Regions from separate parts of the Homo sapiens genome. Here all the other regions are linked to region 1. Evidence: promoter capture Hi-C in 16 types of primary human blood cells and fetal thymus (Javierre and others, 2016). All regions are on one chromosome and are shown on one strand. Each heading gives the region's core, a stretch centred on a gene start or on the middle of the fragment in contact. The rest is flanking DNA. Distances are from core to core; before and after follow the strand shown.

Region 1 (2,747 bases), core at 159-2,658:
AAAAAATAGAGAGCCAGTCTGTTTCATAGTGTCATTGGATCACTCTCCTGCAACAGATGAGATACTCGTAAATGAGATACTAACCAATATGATCTAGACCGTGGTTTAGTTCTGGCTGCCATAAGAAGGATACCATAGGCTGGGTGACCGAAAGAACAGAAATTTATTTTTCACAGTTCTGGAGGGTAAGAAACCCAAGATCAGTGTGCCAGCATGGTCAGGTTCTGGTGAGGGTCCTCTTCCTGCTTGGCAGAAAGCTGCCCTCGTGCTGTGTCTTTACACTGCACAGAGCAGAGAGAGAGGAGGCAAATTCCCCGCTGCCTGCTCTTATGAGGGAACTAATTCCACCAGGAAGCCTCCACCCCATGAACTAATCAGGTATGAAAGGCCCCACCTCCAGATACCACCACATTAGATTGGGGATTTGGGTTTCAACATATGAATTTTGTAGAGACACAAACATTCAGCCCATAGCAGTGTTAAAAGAAAAACATCAGACAAATTAAATTTAGCACAGTTTATTCGAGCAAAGGGTTCATGAATTGGGCAGCACTCACAACCAGAGGAGGTCCAGTGAGGTCCACCCCATGGTGTGAGCAGCAAAGCCTGATAGGCCAAACTCAGAAGCACAGTGGAGAAACTGATTGGCTATAGCTATGCAGGCTGCCTTGTGGGGCCTGGTATAATGAGTTGGTTGCCCATGATTGGCCAGTAGCCCCCTGTTCATTACAGCCTAATGTAGGTTTCCATTGTTAGGTGGGAACTCAACGTACAGAGACAGCCTCAAGCTAATGGCCTCTTGCTTATTTAAGAGCAGTATGCAAACTTTTCCTGGAAAGTTTCAAATGGTAAATATTTTAGGCCCTGTGGGCTATGCCACCTCTGTCATCACTACTCAATTCTGCCCTTGCAGCCCTAGATCATACAGCCATATGCAGTCACTGATAATACAAAGCCATGGGCATGGAGGTTTTCCAATAAAACTATTTGCAAATACAGGCAGGGGCTAAACGGGTCTCCAGGTAGTAATGTGCTCATGCCTAAAGGTCTCCTAGCCCCTCATACCAGTTCGCTGTCCCTCTGAATCTGGGTTGAAGTAAGCACAGGTTACTGCTTCTGTTCAGTGTCATGATCCACCCAGCAATTCCCCAGTCCCCAGCTTTCTTCATGCGTGGGAGGATCCAGCCAAGCGACTGCACAGTTTTGAAAGTTTTTGAAGCGGCCCCTTTTTCTCCTCTCCTCTCTCCGCAGGCAGAGTTGTGGTGTGGCTGGGTGGTCTGCGTGGGCGTCCGGGGGATTCGCGGGCACTCGGGACGAGGCGAGGGCGCAGAAAACTTGGAGCCCAATCAGCACGGAGTTGAGCTTCCGCGCCCCAACCTTCAGGTGACCCCGCGCGGCGGCGGCGGCAGCAGCAGTGGCAGCGGCGACCGGAGCCCGCAGCAGCTCCGAGCGCCTCCGGGAGGACAGGCGGCGAGCTCGGCGAATCGTCATCTGCCAGCCGATCGCGGCGCTCCGCGGGCCGGGGCCGGGAGCCCGGGGCGAGCCCGAACGCGGCTTCTTCTCCGCCCGCCGCGGAGACTCTGCCGGGTGGGCTGCGGGCGCCCCTCGCTGCCGCCTGTGAACGCTGTGGGTGCGCGGGGCTGCGGCCACGGCGGCGGTGGCGGCGGCGGCGGGAGCCGCGAGTCGGGGCCGCCCGGGCTGTGCTTCGCCCCGGCAGCAGCGGTGGCGGCGGCGCCTGTGGCTCAGGATGCGGCCGGGGGGCGCACTGCTCGCCCTGCTCGCCAGCCTGCTGCTGCTGCTGCTGCTGCGCCTGCTCTGGTGCCCGGCAGACGCGCCCGGCCGCGCCAGGTAACCCACCCACCCGCCGGCCGCGCCCCGCGCCGCGCGCCCCGCCTGGCGCCCCCGGACCCCCAAGCCGCCCATCGCTTCCCCTCGGGCGCGGAGACTTTTGGCCGCGGCGGGGAGCAGCCCACGGGCGGCGACGGCCTGAGAGTGGAGTGGGGGAGGGGGTCGCAGGGAGGCGACCCTCCGACCGGTGGACGGCGGCTGGGGAGCAGAGGGACCGGTCAGGGCTGCGGGGGCTCTAGCGCGCATCGCTGTGGGCGAGGCAGCTGTGGAGCGGGACCTGCCGTCGGGTTCCGCATCAGGATCTCATGCTCCCCATTCTGGTCCTTGCTGTCTCTTCCTTCCCGCCCTAAGGCTCTTCCAACTCTGGGGCTGGGGACCTGGCCTGGGAGCCGGGGAGTGCGAGATCTCCCTGCCAGGCAAGGAGCGCGACTCCCAGCCTTTCAGCCAACAGCTCCCGGCGGGGTGTAGCAACTTAAGTTTTCTCCCCGGCTGTGCAGGATTCTGGTGGAGGAAAGCAGGGAGGCCACCCACGGCACCCCCGCAGCGCTGAGGACGCTCCGGAGCCCGGCGACCGCGGTACCGCGCGCCACTAACAGGTACAGCGGCGCCCAGCGCGGGCGGACTGGGGCTCGGGAGCTGCGAGCCGGGCATGGGGCGCGGCTGCACCGGCTTGGACTCGTTGGGAGTAGGCAGGCTGGGACGGCGCGAGTGAGTGTAAGAGTGTGCGTGTGTTTGAAGAGGGCGCGGGGTTGGGGGGGGGCACCCTTCACACTCCCTCAACCCTCTAAGCCTGGATGTGAATGGTCTTTGAATCAAGGGGGATCCTCCAGCAGCTGCATTTGAAAAACGGGTGCTGAGTTTTCCTCTCGACAATGGTGTGTTGAAAGCACCCCCGCCCC
Region 2 (2,747 bases), core at 102-2,601, 660 kb after region 1:
TGACTGGTTATAGGATTGGAGAAGGCAACACTTGGAGGCCAGGATAAGGGATGACATGTGGGGAGAGAATCAAAATCCAAGGTTAAAAATAATGGTTGAGCTGCCTACGAGACCAAATCATGTTTTGCCTTCGGGTAAGAGCAGGTGGCACACCATGGTCTTCTAATATTTAGTGACTGTTGAGGGACTTAGAACTCTTAGAGCTCCAAGAGTCATGTGGCTTTTGTACAGACAGCAGGTTTAGGATTCCAGCTCCTCCTGCTTGAAAAGAAGGTTTACTTTTCCCAGGGAAATGTGGGGCCAGGTTCAGGTGAGAAGTATGGGGGAAGGTTGAGGCGGACGCAGAGAGCTGCTGCTCAAGCGGAGAATGGAGAGTGATAGAGAAACGTCTGACATCAGCCCCTGGGAAGAGGGTGCCGGTGCCTCACCTGGGCGGCTTGTTTAGGGGTCCGGGGGGTTGAAGATACACCCAATTTTCTGAAATGCAAAGTGTGCACAGTTAATACTGCTCATGTCTTAACTTTGGCAAAAAAACAACCTGTGTACTTAAACTCCTTGTCTTTTGAACATCATAAAATGCCATGCAGTTGGCAAATTGTGGATGCAACCGGTGGCATATTTGTTTAGCCAGTAAGACAGTATCAGAATTAATCAGCTTCTTGTTTGGAAACAGCTTTTAGGGGGTTCTCTCTGCTTACTAGTTCTGAAATCACAGACAAGTTACATAACCTCTTGTGTCTCATTTTTCTCATCTAAAATTGAGAGGGAAGAAGAGACTACTATTGCCTTGTAGGGTTATCGTGAGAAATAGGTGAATTGATAAAGTTCTTAGAACTGTGCCAGTCATGTTTTAAGCATTTGGTAAGCATTAGCTATTGTTGTTTGTTATTACCTTATTTTTTTTTAATTTTTTTTTTTTTTTTTTTTTGAGATGGAGTCTCACTCTGTCGCCCAGGCTTGGGTGCAGTGGCGCGATCTCGGCTCACTGCAACCACTGCTTCCTGGGTTCAAGCAATTCTCCTGCCTCAGCCTCCCCAGTAGCTGGGATTACAGGCACCCACCATCACACTTGGCTAATTTTTGTATTTTTAGTAGAGATGGGGCTTCACCATGTTGGCCAGGCTGGTCTCGAACTCCTGACCTCAGGTGATCTGCCTGCCCCGGCCTCCCGAAGTGCTGGAAATACAGGCATGAGCCACCACGCCGGGACTGTTCTAACATTTTTGATTCTAGTGAACACATATGTAAAGTGCTCAGCACAACACAGTGATGTAGTGGTCATTACATAAATAATCTTTTTTCTCTCTTTTATTTGTTTCATTTTAAAGATGAGGAATTTGTGCTCCAGAACAATCCAGTGATTTTTCTCAGGATCTCATGGGATGACAGGGCAGGTCTCACCTGCTAGGAACTGTGCGTTCTTTGCTTTGCTTTTGTGTCTTATTTTATTCTAGATAGGAAGGAATTTTCCATTCAGGTTTATATTATTTTTATTATGGTTGGAATTGCTGTCATAAAGGACATTCCATCCAGGTGTCAATAATAATTTTCCAGTTTGCAAAGAAGAAGCTCAAGATTTAGAATCTGGAAACCTTGATTGTACTCTGTTCTGATTCTGCTGGCCCGTGGAATCTTAGAATACCTTTACTTCTCTGGCCCACTGTTTTCTTATCTGTAAATTGAGGAGCTTAAGTTGTTTGATTTCTAGAGTTCCTTTGGCTCCAACATTCTATAACCATGATTTCTAAAACTGCATAAGTTTTGTGTTACACAAATAAAATAGTTTATGCTAGAAAAATTAGTCAATACAAACAAGCTAAAAAGAAAAAAGAAGAGACAGAGGAGGAAGGTAGTTAGAAATAAAACAAAATGGACTCTGGTCCTTGAAGGTTTTATTAACCCTAAAAAAATTTTCAGGCACTTCCCTTTTAATGGGAGTTTCAAAGCACCTTAGTACTTTTATGGTACAAGTCTGCCTGTCAGAGTTCTCCAGAGAAACAGAATCCATAGGCAATATATATATGGAGATTTATTATGGAAATTGGCCCAGGTGATTATGGAGGCTAAGAAGTCACATGATGTGCTGTCTGCAAGCTGGAGAACCTGGACAGTTGGTAATGTAATTTAGTGCAAGGCCAAAGGCTGGAGAGTCATAGGAGGGGTGCGTGTCAGTGATGCAAGTCCCAGAATCTGAAGGCCCAGGAACCAGGAACTCTGATGTCTGAGGGCAGGAGAAGATGGATCTTCATGAATTCTCCCTTCCTCTGCCTTCTTATTCTATTGAGGCGCTCAATGAATTGGTTATTGCTCACCTGCATTGGCAAGGGTAGGTCTTCTTTACTCAGTCCCCTGATTCAAATGCTAATCTCTTCTGGAAACACCCTCACAGACCCTGGAAAAGAACATTTTACCAGCTATCTGGGTATCTCGTAGCCCAGTCAAGTTGACAAATAACATTCACCATCACTTTCTGTATTGTATCCTAGTGTTTTATTTCATCTCCTTATTGCAGAGGAAGCTCATTGAGGGCAGCAGCTGCATCTCACTCATATTCTATCCCTGTCCCACCAAAGAAGTACAGTGGCTTGCAGAGTAGCTGTAGCTCACCAAGTTTTGTTAATACCATCCAGTGACTGCATATCTTAGGTGGCTTACTATATTTTTCTCTTTAATTCTCTCAGGCATCTTCAGAAATAGTTTTTCTGTGTATTTTTTCCTGGAGCAAAAACTGTGTGTTTGGACAAGAA
Region 3 (2,747 bases), core at 145-2,644, 640 kb after region 1:
CTGCTTTCAGCAGAGGAGCTTTGTACCCTTCGGCTTTTGAAGAGGAGACTTTATGTAATATTTATAAATGGGGAGAATGGCTTAGCTATTTCGGTTCAGCTCCGTTATCTCTTTGAAGCCTTGGCTTTTATTAAGGAAGAAAAGCCACTTGCTTCCTGAAATATATTTCCGGTATAACATTGGGTGGTGAAAAGCGAGATCATTCTTAAATTTTCCTAAAGAAGTAGCTAACAACGGATAATAGTACTTTTTGGGAAGTTGGGTGGAAGTGAATTTGGAGATTTGCAGATTCCATCTCCTCTGGCTTCTGTAGCATTGAGCCAAGGCTGCTCTCTGCAAACTCCCTGACCTCAGGACTTCTCGGAGCCTAGGGGGTTCCAGGATGCTCTTCGAAGCCTCCACCAGGGCTCACTTCTCAGCAGTGCACACACACTGACACAGTGCTTAATATATACAAGTATTAAAATACTTCACATGGCTACATTAATTATAAGTGTAAGAATTTTTTTTTCTTTTTTTTTTTTTTTTTCCTGAAAACAGGGTCTCGCTCTGTCACCCAGGCTGGAATGCAGTGGTGCAGTCACAGCTCCCTGGGGCCTCACCCTCCCAGGCTCAAGCAATCCTCCCACCTCAGCCTCCCGAGTAGCTGGGACTATAGGTACACGCCACCACGCCTGGCTAATGGTTTTATTTTTTATTTCTTTGTAGAGATGGGGTCTTGCTATGCTGCCCAGGCTGGCCTCAAACTCCTGGGCTCAAGGAGTGCCCCCATCTTGGCCTCCTAAAGTGCTGGCATTACACATGTGAGCTACCACACCCAACCTCCATGTTTCTTTACTGATAAACTTTTAGCTGTAACCAGGAAGTTTTATATACTAGTATCCAGCTTAAACACAGCTTAAACTTGTATGTACAGAGAATAGCTGTTTCTTGCATCTCAAGTTTTCCCTTTATTATTCTTACTTTGTTTAATTTCTCAAGAGGTTAGAATTAAGCTTTGAAGATAAAAGTAAGGTTTTGTACTACTAAGCATATGAGATGCCCGTCTTTCTTCCTGGGAGAGTTGTATCTTCTAACGCAGCCCTTCCTTAGAGACAGCAAATTACCTTTAAAAGATGTTTTGAGGAGTTTAGGTACCAAGAACTTTCTGATGGGGAAAACTTCTTAGGCTGGAGACAGGTATCAGACAGGTTCTACAGTTTTCTAGTAGTCCAGCCAGATTCTAGAAATGCTCACTTCCTACCATGAGAGGCAGAGGAGTACAGCACATAGGAGGGGAACCTGGATTTGGATAGACGTGGATTCAAATTCTGCTAGTTAGTACTGTGTAACCTTAGAGAAGCTACTTAACCTCTCTGATCCTCAAGTTACTTAATAATTGGTAGCCTAAGAAACCACTTCATAAGACTGGTTTAATGGTTTGCGTTAAATGCAATAATGCACATTAAATGTTAGTTATTAACTAGTGTTAGATCCAATAATGTACATTAAATGTTAACTATTAATATGAATATCCAGCTATAGACCCATATGTCTCAGACATACCCAGTTCCAACATAGTCAGTAGCCTGAACCAAGAACTTTACTTTGTTAACTCGACTGGGTAAGGCATTTGTATCAGGTGTTGGAATTTTTTGTGTGGCTTATTAGAACCTGTAGTGTTTGGTACTTTTGCCTAAGGTTCTAATTGATTTAGATAGCTATTTATTTAAAATTTGTCCTAATTTATTTATTTTCCATCATTTTGTTTTAACATGGCATGTAATTTGCACACACATTCTCGTTAAAGCTTCCAAGAACACCAGTGTGGGCAATAGAGTGAGACCCCATCTCTACAAAAAATTAAAAAATGAGCTGAGGGTGATGTGCAAGTCCCAGCTTTCAGGGAGGCTGCGGTGGGAGGATTGCTGGAACCCAGGAGTTTGAGTTTGTAGTGAGCTATGATCGTGTTACTAGGTGACAGAACAAGACCTTGTCTCTTAAAAAAAAAAAAAAGCTTCCCAGCATAATCGTAATGCTGCTGATTTTATTCTTTTTATTAAAGAGATTTCACTGCAGAAACTCTTTCCCAAGCAGCAGCTGTCTTCATCTGGTTGATAAAGTTGATTTTGAAGGGCCCTGTAATCAGCTTCCATTTCCATAGAGACAGAATCCCAGCTGTAGCCGGAGGAACTTTCTTTCATTTCTCTTATTTAAGTGTTTCCTGATTTTTTAATCTCTTCAAGTGTATTGCCCTCTCTGGGTGGTCAAGCCTTTATCATTTTTTTTCCAAGTTAGACTAAAATATTTTTCAGATAAATCTCGAAAACAACCTGCTTTCAAGGGAGTGGTCTTTCTAAAGGACCAGGCAAAATAATAAACAAATATGATCATGGGTTATCTGGAAGAGCTATCTCAAAAGTCTTGTTAAACCTGGAACACATGCTATCCATGTCGACCTTCTTTGGGGGATAGATTAAAGAGCTGGGGAGGACCTGTAATTTTAGATATAATCTATTAAAATCATTTTTTTGTTTTTTAATTTTTGTTTTTTGTTTTTGAGATGGAGTCTTGCTCTGTTGCCCAGGCTGGAGTGCAGTGGCGTGATCTCTGCTCACTGCAGCCTCCACCTCTTGGGTTCAAGCGATTCTCCTGCCTCAGCCTCCCCAGTAACTGGGGTTACAGGCGTGCGCCACCACACCTGGCTAATTTTTATATTTTTAGTAGAGACGGGGTTTCACCATATTGGCCAGGCTGGTCTTGAACTC
Region 4 (2,747 bases), core at 108-2,607, 620 kb after region 1:
CATGTCAGGCTGGTTCCAACATACATTGCCCGCGTAACGTTTCCGTAAGAAGCGTCGAGAGCCCTCCTGGAAGCAGGGCTGGTTGTGAATGCAGGGTAGCAGCCAGGCTGGGGGACAGAAAGTGGTTCAGTTCACAGTGTAGTTCTCTCTCCCCATAAAACACAGGCTCATCTCCTGTTTTTATATGTGTCTACTCAAAAATGAGTTGAAACAAAAAAGCAACAAGGCCTCGGAATGTGTTTGTAAAACACATTTAACAACAGACATTGTATAGATTTATAATTCTGTCCTTTGCCCATACAGAAATTCCTTTCGTTCTGAACTTTATTATACTTTGCATTGTATTTTTTCATAGCCTCTTTACAGCCAAGTAATTTTCAATGGGAAACACGTGCACACACACACATACACAAACACACACACAATGAGAAAGGTGTAATAGTTGACTGGAAGCAGAGCAGGCAACATTGCCCCCGCCCATCTCCACCTTTTAAAAATTCACTTTACCTACATTCTCCAGAATGTTTCCCCAAAAGCAAAGGCTGCAGGATCACAGCACAAACTACGGTATAAAAAAGCTGCCTGGTGTTTTAATTGCTGTAGGTTAACAGGTATTTCTGAATCCAAATGCAAATGTTTTTTGATCTACACGTGGAACATTTTTCCCCTTTGCAAGTGAAGGTGACTTCTGCATGTATTTTCAGAAAACGCTTCATTCTTAACTGTATAAAAAGACAAAGCTTTTCCGACCAATGTCATCATTCAAATTGTCTCCATTTTAATGTATATACCTTAGAGAAGAAAGTGTAAGTTTAATAATGAATGACTCCTTCCTAAAGGTGAGAAATGGAAGTAACAGCAATTCACCATTACTGGGCAAGTACTGTGGAACTCTGCTGCCAAACCCTGTCTTCTCTCAAAATAATGAACTATACCTACGATTTAAGAGTGATAGTGTAACTTCTGATCGTGGATATGAAATCATCTGGACTTCATCACCCTCTGGTAAGACATTTGCACTTTGTACAGGAAAGCACTGTGAGAAAAACATGAGGTGTCTAATAGTAAAAGGCAAAGTAACTTTATATTTTTAGCTACCTGTGTACCTGATTAGTTTATGTTAAGAATAGAGATTTTAACATTGAAAGTACAGATTACTTTTTTTTTTTTGAAATGGAATCTCGCTGTGTCATCCAGCCTGGAGTGTAGTGGCGTGATCTTAGCTCACTGCAACCTCCACCTCCCAGGTTCAAGTGATTCTCCTACCTCAGCTTCCCAAGTAGCTGAGATTACAGGCATGCGCCACCATGCCCAGCCGATTTTTGTATTTTTAGTAGACAGAGCGTTTCCCCATATTGGCCAGGCTGGTCTCAAACTCCTGAACTCAGGTGATCCAACCTCCCAAAGTGCTGGGATTACAGGCATGAGCCACCGCGCCCGGCCAGATTACTTTAAATTTTACATTTATTCATTATTTCTGTTTATAAAAGAATATATATTCATATATGAAACATATATAAGGTAAGGTAGGAAGATTCAAAAATTCCTTGGTAAATTAAATTTTGTTAGACTTTTTGACTTTTGGCTTGACCATCAAGGAAGTTCTTTGAGAATTTAAAGAAAAATTTTTACCAAAAATCCAACTTATGAACACATTCTGGCATATATATGAGTAGTTGTGCTTCTCGCAGGCCCTGACATTTCTTGGCGGTTCTGGAGAGAAATTGCTTTTTTTAGGGTAGTAAGTATCTTCTCACATTTTTGGCTGGCTGTTTATCAAACAACTAAAGAAAATTTAAGTCATGTCAATACATTTAATTCAAGAGAGGAGGAATACCTTTATAAAATATCCCAAAATACCAAAATACCTTCAAAATAAGAAAGATAAACAGAACTCACTTTAAATATCTTAAGAAAAGCGTTCTATAAAGATAATCGTGGGTAATGGAATCTTGGCACCCAAAGGAAGCTTAAAGGTGACCTCCAATGCTCAAATTTTATCAACGAGCAAATAAAACACCAAGATTAAGCTAGGTGCTGTGGCTCACACCTATAATCCCTGGGAGACCAAGGTGGGTGGATCACCTGAGGTCAGGAGTTCCAGACCAGTGTGGCCCACAGGGTGAAACCCCATCTCCACTAAAAATACAAAAATTAACTGGGTGTAGTGGCACATGCCTGTAATCCCAGCTACTCGGGAGGCTGAGACTGGAGAATCACTTGAACTTGGGAGATGGAGGCTGTAGTGAGCCGAGATCACGCCACTGCACTCCAGCCTGGGTGACGGAGCAAGACTCCGTCTCAAAAAAAAAAACAAAACAAAAAAAACCCACCATGAACCCGGGAGGTGGAGCTTGCAGTGAGCCAAGATCGTGCCACTGCACTCCAGCCTGGGCGACAGAGCAAGACTCCATCTCAAAAAAAAAACCAACCAAACAAAAAAACCCACCAAGATTAATGAGTTGCCCAAAATGCTCCACTAGACTGAGGTGAAGGTGAGATTAGACCTCAGTGGTCAGAGGCCCAGCCACGTGCTCTGTAACTATGCCAGCCAGCTTCTTCCTGTCCCAGAGATGACCTGGATCTCCACAGATATATAGTCTAAATCATGACAGCCTTCATATACAGATTAACAAATTGAACAAATTAACACCAAAACTTGAAGTATTTGACCTTAAGTATGTCAGTTATTAGCCTGGTAAAGTCACTTTTATAATGAAGTCATTCCTGCCGTCACCTACAATAAC
Region 5 (2,747 bases), core at 162-2,661, 610 kb after region 1:
AGTCTGATTAGAAAATTATGGGATGACACATGCAAATTAAGAATGCATAGTTCAGGATAGTCAGCATTTAAGCGCTAATGAATGCATTCGATGCAGGCTTGAAGCAATGTGCAAGCTTAGAAGGAAAGAAAGTTCATGAAACTCGTGTGATCAAGAATGACTTGATAGAGCGAGGGAAAACTTACTCAGGTCAGGAGAGAATTCAGGCAAGGTGAACATTTTCAAAAAGGCATAGGAATTGATACGTGCATGTTCTCGAAAGCGTAAAGAGGCTGGCTGTGTTGAAGCAGAATAGTGCTAAAGAGTAGCAAGAAATAAGATGGCCTACATAGAGAAATACCGAGATTACAAAGGATCCTGAAAGTCAAACTAATGACTTTAGACTCTGTGCGGGTGAAAATAAGGAGTGGTTGAAGGTTTTCCAATGAGTGAGGTGACAACAGCAGTAGCTAGGGAAGACTAACCTGAAATCAGCAGCTGTGGGAACTGGAAGGAGAGGAGGCTGGGAGGGCTCCAGAGAGAGGTCCCTCCTAGGTGAGAAGGTCAGTCTTAGACCTGGATCAGGGGTGCAGCCATGGCGGTGATGGCAAGAGGGGTGCAAGAGAAACTTAAGTTCTAGGATTGCAATAAACTTTAGAGAAAATAATTTTAAAAGAAAAGGAAGGAAAATTTGTGGAGGGAATACCCATTTGAGCACTTAGTTACATGCTTTTGTTTTTACTATGAAAGGGGCTAAGGTTGGGAGGCCAGAAAAATAACAGTGTGGTTTGGTGAGAGCAAGACAGACAAGTGAGACTGCAGTGGGCAGAGAATGGAACGGGGCTCCGGTGAGAAGACAGCTCCACGAATAGAGAGGACACAGCAAAGAGCCTTCCTTCCATCAGGAGAAAGGATGCTTTCTTAGAGGGAGTCAGCATAGATTTCAGAGAGTCAGGCTCTCAGCTCCAGGAAAAGTACCCAGGGAGGCAACTGGAGAAGGCAAAAGGCACAGGAAAAGAACAGACGCGTCATGAAAAGATAAATGTGAAGACCAGGAATAGTGTAGTATCCCTGAAGTCAAGGGGCAGGGGGATTCTTTTACAAAGCATGGGTGGTCAATACTATTGAATTGTAAAGTAGAGGCCAAGAAAGGGAAAGATGAAGAACAGCCTCATTGCACTGGATGACAACCATTTAAATAAAGTATTGGCACAGAAGCTGGATCAGAGGAGTTCATGAAAGACTAAAGATAGCAAGGAATGTCAATTCCAGTTTAATTCTCCTTTCCTAAAATGAGACCTGGCCGGCCGAGTGCGGTGACTCACGTCTGTAATCCCAGCACACTGGGAGGCAGAGGTAGGCAGATTGCTTGAGCTCAGAAGTTTGAGACAAGCCCTGGCAACATAGTGAGAACCCGTCTCTACAAAAAATACAAAACAATTATCTGGGTGTGGTGCTGTGCACCTACGGTACCAGCTTCTCGGGAGACTGAGGTGGAAGGATCCCCTGAACCCAGAAGGTATAAGCTGCAGTCAGTCGTGATTGCATCACTGCACACCAGCCTGGGCAACAGAGTGAGATACTTTCGCCAAAAAAAAAAAAAAAAAAAAAAAAAAAAGGCTGGGAGAGACCAAAATGACTAGAGCAGTCCTAAAGCTGAATTCAAAACTGTTTGAGAGCTCTCCTGGCTTTACAGAAAGGTAATAAGGTTTAGAGACGGAGAGTATGGGGACTCTAACCCAATTTTGCTGTCAGACAAATTTCCTAATCTCCCCGATTCCTCATCATTTCGTCAATTTTTCTTTAAATCACATAATAGTACCTACTGTGAAAGGCAGTTTTGAGGATTGAAATTATGTGTACTAGAGCGTTTAGCACTGTGCCTGACATAAATTGTAAACAAATTTACCTCCCTTTTTTTCCCCGTTGGAGTAATTCCAAATAGGCATGGGCACTATGGAATTTCTTTTTCTTAAAAACTAAAAATAATGGATTTGCATATAAAATTACAATTTTAAATTCTTATAGAATGATTTGAGTATGGCCCTGCTAGGAGAGTTGACTGGATTTACTCTCAAGATCCATTTTTATGGAGTGTGATTTGATAATGTCATCAAAACAGCCTGTCATTGTCTGAATTTCCGCAATTCATTCAGGCCAGAAACTGCAATATCAAAAACAAGGAGTTATTTTCTTGCTTCAAAATAAAATATCGTTTTTTTCAAATAAATTCTGTTCAGAACTATTCTTGTTTTCCCCCTTGGAAAAGCAATTTCCTTCCATTGGCAACGTTTCCAACTACCACTAAACTGGCAGATCAAAGAATAGCCCTTGGAATGTGGAGCTTGGAGCTTTCTTTATTAAAGAGATTTTTCTGTGATAAATGGGACGGTTGATTCCTTTTAGATTTTTTTTTAGAGATTATAATCAAATCACTTTTTAGAAAAGCTAATTTAACTGAACTCTGTGGTAGATACACAAGTAAAATCATACCAATTCCATTATTCATTCATAATTCTATCATGATCGTTTGTGAAAGGGTTGACTTGGAGAGTAATTACGGTAACTGAATCACGTAGTGAATTGTGCATGTCACTGAGCAGTCTCTTTTGAAATCCACATCGCATCCATTGCAGGAGTTAGTTGGCAAGGGTATGTGCCAGGCCCTGTACCAGCATCACTGGAGATGTAGAGAGTTAAAGACATCTCTTGAAGAGTTCAAGCTTCTTGAGGAGCTGCTAGTAAAGTGTAGGAGACTGACATGTAAA
Region 6 (2,747 bases), core at 150-2,649, 580 kb after region 1:
TTATTATATATTTTATATATAAATATATATTATTTAGTCTATATTTTCAAAATTATTCCATATTATGGATTGTTTATTAGAGCTACTGCCAAAATAAATTGAAAATGCAGGCTGGGCATGGTGTCCCATGCCTGTAATCCCAGCACAGGGAGGCTGAGGCAGGCAGGTCACCTGAGGTCAGAAGTTCAAGACCAGCCTGGCCAACATGGCAGAAACCTCATCTCTACTAAAAAATATACATGTAATTAAAAAAAATAGCCAGGCATGGTGGTGGACACCTGTAATCCCAGCTACTCGGGAGGGTGAGGCAAGAGAATCACTTGAACCAGGGAGGCAGAGGTTGCAGTGAGCTGAGATTGTGCCACTGCACTCCAGCCTGTGCAACAGAGTGAGACTCTGTCTCAAAAAAAAAAAGAAAAAGCAGAAGAACCTATAAAAATGAGGACAGGATATCAAATATTATTTTTTTAAACAAGTTTTAAAAATAAGCTATAATAAACCCACCACAAAACTCTAAAGTAAATCCATGTAAGAAGCCTTGCTTGTTCAGGAACTCTAGAAATCGTTATTTGAAATGACAAAGAATAAGACCTGAATTAAACACTGTATAAGACAGAGAAAAGTTAGGGATGCATCTGTCAGGATAGGTTATGCACATAGTAACAAACAACTCCACCTCACAGCAGCTTAACTCAACAAGTTGATTTCTCATTGTAATGAGCATGTTCAGTGTGGCCTGGCATGGAAGCTCTGCTCATCGTGGTCATCCAACAACCCAGGCTGATGGAAGCTTCGTTTTTACATTTGCTTCCATGATCATCACTGCAGTGGGAAGGCAGTGTGGCAAAGCAAGTAGTCATTTGTAAAGCTTCTTCCGTAAAGTAATATGTATCCCTTCTGCTTACATTTCTGTGGTCAAAGCAACTCCTAGCAGCCATGTCAAGCCTCAAAGTGTGCCCCTAGGGCAATCCTACCAGTGCTGGGGAGGCAGAGAGCTGGGACCATGTGCAGAAGTGTCAGTGACCACCACAGAGGTCTTAAATGTAAATTTCCTGTTCTTCACCTGACCTTAACATAAACTTCATTTTAAAAGAGGAAAATGAGACTGTGAGGAGAATGGAGCTGTGATTCTAAAAGCAGCATTTCTTCTATTATATTAACATGCTTCCCATAAGTTCTACTTCATCTCATAAAATAACAAGGGAAGAGTAAATATGGTATTTTTAATGAGACCTAAAAAACTAAAGTATTGCTGGGATAGTAAATATCAGTTCAACTTGTCAAAAGTTGTTCTCAGATGGACTTTAATATGCCCTAGACTGTGAATTCCTTGAAAAGTAAGACTGTATCTTACTCACTTTGACATCCCCAGCTGCTGTCACAGTTTTTGTTGTATTGTAATTACTAAAAACAAATTTGGCTAAACTTTTGAACTGATCAGTAAAGTACTGTTTGATTTCTAATATTTCATATCAAGTGAGTTTTGAATGCTCTACTGGTAGTTTTTTCCTTGTCATTTTTTTTGCAAGAGCTAAAGCTACAATTTAATAGAAGTCCAAATGGAAACATCAGTATTAACAAGGTACATTTCACAGGTTCAGTGATTTTGATGTGGTTCCCTCCACCTCCTGCTCCCATGACTACCTGGCAATTTACGATGGTGCCAATACCAGCGATCCCCTTCTTGGCAAATTCTGCGGTTCCAAGCGCCCACCAAATGTGAAGAGCAGCAATAATAGTATGCTCCTGGTGTTCAAGACAGATTCATTTCAGACAGCAAAAGGCTGGAAGATGTCTTTCCGGCAGACATTGGGTAAGAATTCTGGACTTGTAAATCTATTTGTCAGGACTGTTACCTTTCTGCTTTATTTAATTTCCCCGCCCCCCCCCCACCCCCACCTGATTATGATTGCTTTTCCTTGAAGCTTAGAAGAATATGCCATGTAAGGGCTTGGTTTTAAAACTTACGTATGACATATTTTAATGTTGTAAAAAAATCACTCAACAAATGTACCCAGCACTTTGGGAGGTTGAGGCGGGTGGATCACCTGAGGTCAGGAGTTCAAGACCAGCCTGGCCAACATGGTGAAACCCCATCTCTACAAAAATACAAAAATTAGCTGGGCATGGTGGTGTGTGCCTGTAATCCCAGCTACGCAGGAGGCTGAGGTGGGAGAATTGCTTGAACCCAGGAGATGGAGGTTGCAGTGGGCCAAAATCATACCATTGCACTCTAGCCTGGGTGACAGAATGAGACTCTGTCTCAAAAAAAAAAAAAAAAAAATCACTTTGGTAGCACAGTGGAGGAAGGCTAGAAGAACCTACAACATGGGAAGGAAGAAGCTTATGATAGAAATCTAGATGGGAAGTGTCAAAGCCTTGAACGGACCCAGAGGGGAAAGAGATAAAGGGAAGGGCAGAAATCTGAGAGACGGAAGGCAGAATACATTGGAAGCACAGTGTTTGGACTCTGATGATATTTTAATGAGGACATGAATTGAGGATGACTTTCTATAGGTAATTTGTTGGATGATGGTGGCTTAGGAGACTAAGATTTAAGGGAGAAATGTTTTATTTAATTTGGAGTATTTTAAGTTGGAAGACCTGTTTAAATGGAGCTGTCTAGTTGGAAGCTGATGCTTGAGAAGGAATTTGGACTGGAGAGGGTGATGTAGCGGGGGTAGGTAAAGTTAGGTGAGAGGATAAACTGAAAATATGCCCCAGATTACTCCCACTGCATGTGAGAA

What was found. The method cuts DNA at HindIII sites, captures the fragments that hold promoters and counts their contacts. A CHiCAGO score of 5 or more calls a contact.
Region 2: a contact is called between a fragment that was not itself captured here and the fragment with the promoter of ST8SIA6 in region 1, in 1 of 17 cell types (naive CD4 T cells). The highest score is 5.1, in naive CD4 T cells.
Region 3: a fragment that was not itself captured here is called in contact with the fragment with the promoter of ST8SIA6 in region 1 in 1 of 17 cell types (erythroblasts); the score reaches 7.2 in erythroblasts.
Region 4: a fragment that was not itself captured here is called in contact with the fragment with the promoter of ST8SIA6 in region 1 in 12 of 17 cell types (erythroblasts, M1 macrophages, M0 macrophages and 9 more); the score reaches 15.1 in erythroblasts.
Region 5: a contact is called between a fragment that was not itself captured here and the fragment with the promoter of ST8SIA6 in region 1, in 4 of 17 cell types (M1 macrophages, M0 macrophages, M2 macrophages and 1 more). The highest score is 7.3, in M1 macrophages.
Region 6: a fragment that was not itself captured here is called in contact with the fragment with the promoter of ST8SIA6 in region 1 in 1 of 17 cell types (M1 macrophages); the score reaches 5.2 in M1 macrophages.

What each region holds. Positions count from the first base shown.
Region 1 is chr10:17,453,256-17,456,002 of GRCh38, reverse strand. ST8SIA6 (ST8 alpha-N-acetyl-neuraminide alpha-2,8-sialyltransferase 6) reads left to right here and starts at 1,408. Exons shown (of 8, transcript NM_001004470.3): 1 at 1,408-1,848; 2 at 2,346-2,444. The coding sequence starts at 1,748. The HindIII fragment of the contact is 5,030 bases long and covers 1-2,747 here.
Region 2 is chr10:16,793,535-16,796,281 of GRCh38, reverse strand. All of the region lies in intron 2 of RSU1 (Ras suppressor protein 1), which reads left to right. Among named protein-coding and RNA genes, the nearest start is that of RSU1, 23 kb to the left of the region's middle. RefSeq lists enhancers at 326-385, 596-815. The HindIII fragment of the contact is 3,505 bases long and covers 1-2,747 here.
Region 3 is chr10:16,812,234-16,814,980 of GRCh38, reverse strand. The region is part of intron 2 of RSU1 (Ras suppressor protein 1); the gene reads left to right. Among named protein-coding and RNA genes, the nearest start is that of RSU1, 3.8 kb to the left of the region's middle. The HindIII fragment of the contact is 794 bases long and covers 998-1,791 here.
Region 4 is chr10:16,829,510-16,832,256 of GRCh38, reverse strand. CUBN (cubilin) reads left to right here. Exons shown (of 67, transcript NM_001081.4): 65 at 840-1,005. Among named protein-coding and RNA genes, the nearest start is that of RSU1, 13 kb to the right of the region's middle. The HindIII fragment of the contact is 1,229 bases long and covers 743-1,971 here.
Region 5 is chr10:16,847,541-16,850,287 of GRCh38, reverse strand. The region is part of intron 60 of CUBN (cubilin); the gene reads left to right. Among named protein-coding and RNA genes, the nearest start is that of RSU1, 31 kb to the right of the region's middle. The HindIII fragment of the contact is 2,587 bases long and covers 118-2,704 here.
Region 6 is chr10:16,868,702-16,871,448 of GRCh38, reverse strand. CUBN (cubilin) reads left to right here. Exons shown (of 67, transcript NM_001081.4): 59 at 1,596-1,813. Among named protein-coding and RNA genes, the nearest start is that of RSU1, 53 kb to the right of the region's middle. The HindIII fragment of the contact is 1,057 bases long and covers 871-1,927 here.